Regions from separate parts of the Homo sapiens genome. Here regions 1 and 2 are each linked to region 3. Evidence: promoter capture Hi-C in 16 types of primary human blood cells and fetal thymus (Javierre and others, 2016). All regions are on one chromosome and are shown on one strand. Each heading gives the region's core, a stretch centred on a gene start or on the middle of the fragment in contact. The rest is flanking DNA. Distances are from core to core; before and after follow the strand shown. Region 1 has its middle 94 kb from the start of N4BP1. Region 2 has its middle 74 kb from the start of N4BP1. Region 3 holds the start of SIAH1 (siah E3 ubiquitin protein ligase 1).

Region 1 (2,816 bases), core at 152-2,651, 130 kb before region 3:
GAATTTTATCGGTCTTGCAAAGACCCACCCTTTAGTTTCATTGATTTTCTCTATTGATTTCCTATTTTCAATTTCATTGAGTTTTACTTTGGTTTTTATTATTTCTTTTCTTCTGTTTTGTGTAAATTTAATTTGTGTAAATTAATTACACAAATTACACAAATTTGTGTAAATTAATTACACAAATAATTGTGTAAAATTGCTTTGTGTAAATTAATTTTTTTTTCTAGTTTCCTAAAGGGGAAGCTTAAATTGTTGATTTTAGATCTCTATTTTTTTGATACATACATTCAATATTATCAATTTCTCTCTAAACACTACTTTCGCTACATCACACAATTTTGATTAGTTGTGTTCTCATTTTCACTTAGTTCAAAATATTTTTAAATTTTTCTTGAGAGTTCTTTTTTGACCTTTGTGTTATGCAGAAGTGTGTTGTTTAATCCCCAAGTATTTGGGAATTTTCTAGCTATCTTTCTCTTACTGATTTCTAGTTTAATTCCACTGTGGTCTGAGGCCAGACATTGGATGGTTTCTATTCTTTTAAATGTATTAAGATTTTTTTTGTTTTTATTTATTTATTTTTTTTGAGACGGAGTCTTGCTCTGTCGCCCAGGCTGGAGTGCAGTGGTGCAATCTCGGCTCACCACAACCTCTGCCTCCCGGGTTCAAGCGATTCTCCTGCCTCACCCTCCGAAGTAGCTGGGACTACAGGTGCGTGCCACCATGCATGGCTAATTTTTGCATTTTTAGGAGAGACAGGGTTTCATTATGTTGGCCAAGCTGGTCTCAAATTCCTGACCTGGTGATCTGCCTGCCTCAGCCTCCCAAAGTGCTGGGATTACAGGTGTGAGCCATCACACCTGGCCTTAAGGTGTTTTTTATGGCCCTGAATGTGGTCTGTCTTGGTGAATATTCCATATGAGCTTCAGAAGAATGTGTAATCTGCTGTCACTGGGTGAGGCCATTTATAGATCAATATACCAGCTGTTAATGGTACTATTGAGTTCTGCCTGCTGGATCTGTCCATTTCTGTTAAAGGGGTGTTAAAATCTCCAACTTATTTATTTATTTATTTATTTATTTATTTAGACGGAGTCTTGCTCTGTCACCCAGGCTGGAGTGCAGTGGTGCGATCTTGGCTCACTGCAACCTCTGCGTCCCGGGTTCAAGTGATTCTCCTGCCTCAGCCTCCTGAGTAGCTGGGATTACAGGCGCGTACAACAACACCCAGCTAATTTTTGTACTTTTAGTAGAGACAGGGTTTCACCATGTTGGCCAGGCTGGTCTCAAACTCCTGACCTCAGGTGAACTGCCCTCCTCAGCCTCTCAAAGTGCTGGGATTACAGGTGTGAGCCACTGCACCCAGCCAAAATCTCCAACTTTAAAAGTGGGTTCGTTATTTCTTCTCGAAGGTCTGTCAGTTTTTGCCTCTCAGGCACCGATGCTCTGTTGTTAGGCGTGTACATATTAAGTATTGTTGCCTTGGAGAACTGAGCCCTCCCTCATTCTGTAATGCCTTCTTTATTCCTGATCACTTTCCTTGCTGAAGTCAGCTCTGTCTGAAATTAATAGAACTACTGCTTTCTTATGATGTGCATTGGCATGGAATATCTTTCTTTATCTCTTTACTTTTAAAGTATATGTGTTTTTATATTTAAAGTGGGTTTTTTGTAGACAACTTACAGTTGAATCTTATTTTTTGATATACTGTGACAATCTCTGTCCTTAATTGGTACATTTAGAGCACTGGCTTTCAAAGTAATTGTTGATGTAATTGGATTATTATCCACCATATTTTAAAATGTGCTGCCCTTATTCTTTGTTCCTATTTTTGTCTTTTACTCTGTCTCTGCCTTTTGTGGTTTTAATTAGGCATTTTGTAGGATACCATTTTCTCTCCTTGCTTAGTATATTACTTCTACTTCAAAACTTGGTTGCCTTAAAACTTGCAATATACATTTTTAAAAATTTTTCTTTATAAACAAACACACACAAATCAATATACTTTTGAAACTAAATCAAACCTGATTTCAAATAACACTACACCTTTTAAAGGGTAGTGCAAGTGCCTTATAATAACAAAATATTTCTAATTTCTCTCTCCTGTTCCTTGTTTCATTGTTATCATTCATTTCATCTATACATAAGCATCCATAAGCATGTATGTTTAAGCATATATAATTTTTTTTGTTTTTTGATACGGAATCTCACTCTGTCACCCAGGCTGGAGTGCAGTGGTGCCATCTTGGCTCACTGCAACGTCCACCTCCTGGTTCAATCGATTCAAGCAGCCTCCCAAGTAGCTGGGATTACAAGCGCCTGCCACCACGCTTCCTGGCTAACTTTTGTGTTTTTAGTAGAGACGGAGTTTCACCAAGTTGGCCAGGATGGTCTCAACCTCCTCACCTCAGGTGATCTGCCAGCCTCAGCCTCCCAAAGTGCTGAGATTACAGGTGTGAGTCACCGCACCCCGCCAGCATACATAATTGAATACATTGTTCCTCTTTTGAGCAAACTGTTATGTGATAGATGGATTAAAAACATAAAAGCTTTTATTTTGCCTCTACTTATTCATTTCCTGATGCTCTTTCTTTCTTTATGTAGATCTGTGTTTCTGACCTATACTATTTTCATTCTCTCTGAAGAACTTATTTTAACATTTTTTGCAAGACAAACCTTTTGGCAACAAATTCCCTCTATTTATTTATATATTTATTTACTCATTTATTTATTTGAGACAGGGTGTCTCACTCTGTTACCCAGGCTGGACTGCAGTGGCGCGATCTCAGCTCACTGCAACCTCCGCCTCCTGG
Region 2 (2,700 bases), core at 43-2,542, 150 kb before region 3:
GTGGTCCAATGATGAGGGTGCTTAGGTTAGGGCCTACATTTCTTTCAGTGCCTCAGCAGGGCCATGGGAAGTCCAGCTGTTCTAGAGAGGGCATTGTTCCTTGAACAAGGCAGGCACTTGGGAGAGTCCCTCGGGTGCCGTCACCAGAGAGAGCACCCGGAGGAAGTGAGCACAGCCACTGCCTGCCTGCAGGGTGCTGAGAAAGCTGAGGCCGGCAACCAGTGTCGTGCCCTCACCACCCATGTGCCCGGCAAGCTTCTGTCTCCTTTAATCCTCACCTCACTCCTAAAGTGCTGCTGTTATTATCTCCATTTTGCAGAGGAGGAAACTGAGGTACAGAGATGCTCAGGAACTTCCATTTCTTCAAGCTAAGATGTCCAGGATTTAGGATTTGAATTCCAATGGGCCATCCCACCTCCCTGAAAGGCAAAGCTGCACCAGAGGTGACTCAGCAGCTGGTATGGCACCTAAGATACCTCCACCCTTCAAGGAAAAGAATTGAGGGCCCATGACAGACCTGGGTCAAGGCTGTCAGTCTTCAGGGCACAGGGAGGCTGCGGAAGGAAGCTGCCTCCCCACTTCCTGCTTGGTGGGCCCGTATCCAGCCCTGTTCCTGCGAGAGGATGCCAAGAGCATATTTTTTTAAAGAAGTTGACCAGTTCTGCAGAAGCTGTGTCAGGAGTGAGCCCATGTATGCATCAGAGCCACCTTGCACTTCATTTCGGGAAACACAGATGAGTTGATGTTGATTGGAAACTGTACGTGGCCTTTTTCCCGGCTCAGGTTCCAATCCCCTACACACCGAGGATGCCAGGGCTGGGGGCATTCACTGGGGAAATGGACTGGGCAGGCAGGGATTTGCCCAGAAACAGAGCAGAAGTACCCACAGCCAGTGCTGGAGCCAAAAGCCCAGAGGCTTAGGGCTTCTTAAACCAGCCCCCTTTCACCCCCTCCTGCCTGGTGGCTTCAGCTCCCAGAGTCACAGGACTCCAAACCGCAGACTCCAGCCTTTGGGGCTTTCCTTCCCCAGCCCCGAGTCCCCAGGGAGCCCTGCTTGGCCCCACAGCCTGAAACCCAGTCTGGGGTCAGGCCTGGGCAGGCCCTGTCCTCCCCTCCTCCCTGCTTCTAGCGAGAAGAGGAGGCGGCGGCCTCCCCCAAAAAGAATGCGCTTGTCTGCCCGCCTGTCTGGCTCCTGGATCAGTCTAAAGTTTCAGCCACCAAAACAGGCAGCAGGAAGAAGAGGGCCTCCCGCAGCCTGCCCCTAGCAGCTGCGCACGTGGGCTTGCTCAGGGGACTTCCCCCAAACCAGGGTGTCTCTCAATGCCAGCAGGACCCTCTCCCCTTGCCAGCCCCTCAGGATCCCTGGCATGTCACACCTCCACTCTGAGAAGGGCTGGGAACCCTTACTTCTTCCCACTGTGTGGCTAAGGGACATGAGGCCCAGCCGGTGAGGGGTGGGGCCCAAACCCCTCATCCCCTCCGGATGCTGCACCTTCCCAGCCCCTCCAGGGTTCCTCCATCCCTGGTCTTGAGCAGCCACTTCATGCAGGGGACAGTGCCAGGGAAGGGAGAGAACAACCAGAATGGCCCTTCTTCTGAAGGCCTCATGCCCAGCCAGCCCGTGGAGTGAGGGCATCACCTGCTCCTGCACTTATTCTCCGTGACCTTGAGAAAGTTACGCAGCCTCTCAAGGCCTCGGGCCCTCATCTGTCAAGGGCTAGTGCTGCTGCCCTCAGAGCTGGTGGTCTGTGACCCTGGCTGTGCACTGGGATCCCCAGGGGCAGCGCTGCCCAGGCCACACCCCAGACCCTAGAGATCAGAATCTGACATCCACGTTTTCTGGTAATCCCAAGTGACCCGGCGTGCCCTCATGGTTGAGAAACACCTCCCTACTAAAGAGTAGTTGCAATGGTTGCAACCAGGACTGAATCCTAAGAAACGGGCCTGGCTCCTGGGAGAGTCCTTCCCATCCTGAGTCCCACGGTGAGGAAGGCACCTTTGCACCCAGGCCGGTGAGTGTTCCCTAGAATACATGTGGCTCCAGCGAGGGTCCCTCAGGGCCTCATCTGACCTTTGGTGGTTTTCAAATCCCAGGCCCTACAGAGGCAGGACACAGAGTGGGGCACGGAGCAGGGGAGGCCAGGACCCCTCCGGCTCCCTCCTGGTTCCTGAGTACCAGTGGGGCTGGCATTGGCATCAGGTGTTTCTCCCGACCTGGCCCCACTGTGTGTCCTCACCTCCTGACAGAAGCTGGCTTAATTACATGTGGGGACAATTTCTGCACAAGAGGGAGGAGAGCAGCTGGTACCCATTGAGCTTGCAAGCTTCTTTCCACAAAGCAGCGCCTTCATCCTCCCCACTGTGCACTCCCTGCAAACCCTGGTCACCATCCCACAGGCACCAGGGACCTGAGAGCCCAGCAGGGCCAGCCACACCGCTGAGAAGGGAAGGAGGAGGCCACCCAGTGGAGAGCCCTCGTTTCACAGTTGCAGTGTGGACAGAGGCCCAGCTAGCTTGGGTTGCCCATGGCCATCAGCTGTTCGGTAAGGCAGGACTGAGTCCAGGTCTTATTCCCACATTTGTTCTTTCCACTGCCTCCCCTGAAGATGAGTTTCTTTTCCCTGTGAGCCTTTTCTAGTTGTCTGACACTCCCAGCTTTAATAAACCCCCACCTCCCCAGCCCAGGAACTCTGGCTTTGA
Region 3 (2,829 bases), core at 37-2,536:
ACTCTATTGACCTTCCCGTGTACTGAGGAGCTATAACTTCTCCCCAAAAATGTGAAAGTAAAATTGCAGTTTAAATCATGTAATTAGGAATACTGTAAACTAGTGTTTTGCACATATAAACTTTATCATACACTGGGAATTTGTACATACGTGCCCGGTATGGGATTTTTCTATTTTTATTTTTATTTTTTTGAGACAGAGTCTCGCTCTGTTGTCCAGGCTGGAGTGCAATGGCCTGATCTCTGCCTCACTGCAACCTCTGCCTCCCGGGTTCAAGCGATTCTCCTGCCTCAGCCTCCGAGTAGCTGGGACTACAGGCGTGCACCACCACGCCCGGCTAATTTTTGTATTTTTAGTAGAGATAGGGTTTCACCATGTTGGCCAGGCTACTCTCGAACTCCTGACCTCAGGTAATCCATCGGCCTCGGCCTCCCTAAGTGCTGGGATTACAGGCGTGAGCCACCGCGTCCGGACGGAATACCATTTTAATAGATCTTACATGGAATTCCAGTTAGGGCTTGTAAATGTCTCAGATGCTTGCTTCTGCTCATAGCACCCATCAAAGAATTGCAAGTGATGTTTTCCTTTTATTATTTCAAGAAGTGGAATGCAGAGTCCCTAATTAGGGACTTTCCAGATGAGCATGGACACAGGAAAACGCGTGCTTCCCCATTACCCACTTTTCAGCTGAAACAAGCTTTTGAAGCTCGTCCCGCTGTTGCTGAGGAGCGGCTCAACCTCGGGAGAGGCTGGGACTCTCTTTAGGGGTGGGGTCCCGGTCGGCGGGCAGGGCAGCCGCTTTTTCTTTGGGACTGAGTGGAGTTGGGAAGGATCCGTGGAGGCGCTGGGCTAAATCAGCAGACAAAACAAGGGGGAGGGCACAAGGCCGCGGCGGCGGCCAGCCTGGGGCTCGCATCCCGCTGGGCGACCCCTCCGGCCGGAGCCGGGGGGGTCACGCGGCCCCGGAACAAAGCGCCGCGGGAGGAGCTGCCCTGAGCCGACGGGCAAGCGCTAGCTTCTCGCGGGCCAGAGCGCCACGTGCCAGGATCCGTTGAATGCGCGGTGCACGGGCGCAGCAACGGTAGCCGAGTAGCCCCCGCACCTACTGCCGCCTTTGGAGACCCGCACAGCTACGCCCGCGGAGGCCGCCGCCGGCCGCGCCAACGCCTGTGCGCCTGCGCGCCCGCGAAAGCCCCGCCCCCCCAGGCTCCCAGCGCGCGGGGCCGCGCCTCCTCATGGCCGCCGCCGCAGTGTGTGGTATTTAGCGGGGGCGCGCGGCGGGCTCGAGGACGCGCGAAACGGCGGCGGCGGCGGCGGCCAGGGGGGAGCCGGGGCGGCCGTTGCGGGGCGCGCTCTCGAGAGGCGGCGGCGGCCCAGGGTGTCCCGTCGGTCTCGGCGCCGGGAAGAGGCGGTGGCGCTGCCCGCGGTGGCGGGGGTTGGCGACGGAGCGCGTTGGTGCCAGGACCGGGGTCCGAGGCGCGCTCTCCGCCCACAGGTAAGTGGGGCCCGGCCTGAGGGAGGAGCCGGCGGCGAGGGGCTCTCCGACAGGCGGGCGCCCAGGCCCGGTAATGGCGGAGGGCGGGAAGGGCGGCCCGGCCGGGGCGCGGGCAGTAGTCGGCGCGGCGGCGCCTTTGTCTCGGCCGGAGTCGGGCCGCCCGGTCGAGCGCCGCCCCCCGCCCCTCCCCTGCCTTCAGCCTTCGCAAGCCGGCTCGCCCCCGCCCCTGGAGCCCCGGGCCCGGCGGGGTGGCGGCGGGGGTCGGCCCCGCGCGGCCGGGCCGAGGGCGGGGGAAGGGCCTCGGCGGCGGCCCGGCCCCCGCGCGCCCGGGAGGCGGGCCCGGCCGGGGGTGGCGCCCGGCGCGCCCCGCGCCCTCGTGCCGGCCTTTGTTGTGGAGGGTCCCGGGGTGTGCGGCCAACATGGCGGAGGTCAGCTGAGTGCGGGCAGCTGCCGGGGCCCTGCCCTCCCTCCCCCTCCTCCCCGCGGCGCCCGGAGGCCCGGGCCGCACCGCGCCGCTCGGCGGGCCTCGGCCTCCGCTCTCTGCCCCCGACCCCCGGCTGGAGCCGTCCGGGACGGGGCTGCGCTCTTCCTGCCGCTTCGGCCGGAGGCTTCATTGTGCAGTGGGAAGAATGCAGCCTCCTCCCTTGTTTATGTCGTTAGAGAGGAGAGCGCGTGAACGGCGTGCCGGGGAAGCTCTAGCTTATTATAAACCTGGCATTTCCTAGGGTTCATTTGCCGGGTAGTTTGGGGTCCTTTCTTAACTCTCCCAAATTTATAACTTAAAGTGAATAACCTGGGCCACTCCGATGCGTAGGTTCGTTTTCGCTGTCTGCCCGTTCCTGGAAAGATACATAATTTGTTTGCTCGGACATTCAGAAAAGTCCAGCTTGGGTGTTCGGAAAATCAGATTGTGTGTACTTCTTTTGCCAAAGTCATAGAGGCCATAAACAAACAGAGAGACATGGATACTGGATATGGGACGGTGTTCTGACTGTCCCTTCCTAGCAGTTGAGCATTTACCTTTGCTTATAGCGGCTGTCAAGGGTAAATTGTTAACTCTTCAGCAGTTGGATGTTGAGAGCACGGGCTGTGAAGTCCGACTGTCTGCTTTGGGTCAAATCCTGCTCCACTGGTTTGTGACCTTGGGCAGATACTTCTCTGTGCTTCGCTTTCCTTATCTGCAAAATGGGTGTAACGACAGTATCTACCTCAAGCCCTGTTGAGAATTGATGAGATGACAATAGGTGGACTGAAAGCAGTGGCAGCCCCATACTAAGTTCTCAACAAATGCTTACTGTTAAGACTGTAGTTTAATAGCTAAACTTACGAGGTTT

Evidence for each region. Contacts are between HindIII fragments. The CHiCAGO score rates a contact against its expected background, and 5 or more counts as called.
Region 1: a contact is called between a fragment that was not itself captured here and the fragment with the promoter of SIAH1 in region 3, in 3 of 17 cell types (M2 macrophages, M0 macrophages and neutrophils). The highest score is 6.5, in M2 macrophages.
Region 2: a fragment that was not itself captured here is called in contact with the fragment with the promoter of SIAH1 in region 3 in 10 of 17 cell types (M0 macrophages, M1 macrophages, M2 macrophages and 7 more); the score reaches 27.0 in M0 macrophages.

Annotation. Positions count from the first base shown.
Region 1 is chr16:48,514,562-48,517,377 of GRCh38, reverse strand. No RefSeq gene overlaps it. Among named protein-coding and RNA genes, the nearest start is that of N4BP1, 94 kb to the left of the region's middle. The HindIII fragment of the contact is 2,306 bases long and covers 249-2,554 here.
Region 2 is chr16:48,534,877-48,537,576 of GRCh38, reverse strand. No RefSeq gene overlaps it. Among named protein-coding and RNA genes, the nearest start is that of N4BP1, 74 kb to the left of the region's middle. RefSeq lists enhancers at 1-12, 773-842, 873-1,242. The HindIII fragment of the contact is 2,069 bases long and covers 258-2,326 here.
Region 3 is chr16:48,383,870-48,386,698 of GRCh38, reverse strand. It overlaps SIAH1 (siah E3 ubiquitin protein ligase 1), which reads left to right and starts at 1,286. Exons shown (of 2, transcript NM_003031.4): 1 at 1,286-1,495. RefSeq lists silencers at 858-1,677, 1,778-1,847, 1,938-2,207. The HindIII fragment of the contact is 2,947 bases long and covers 700-2,829 here.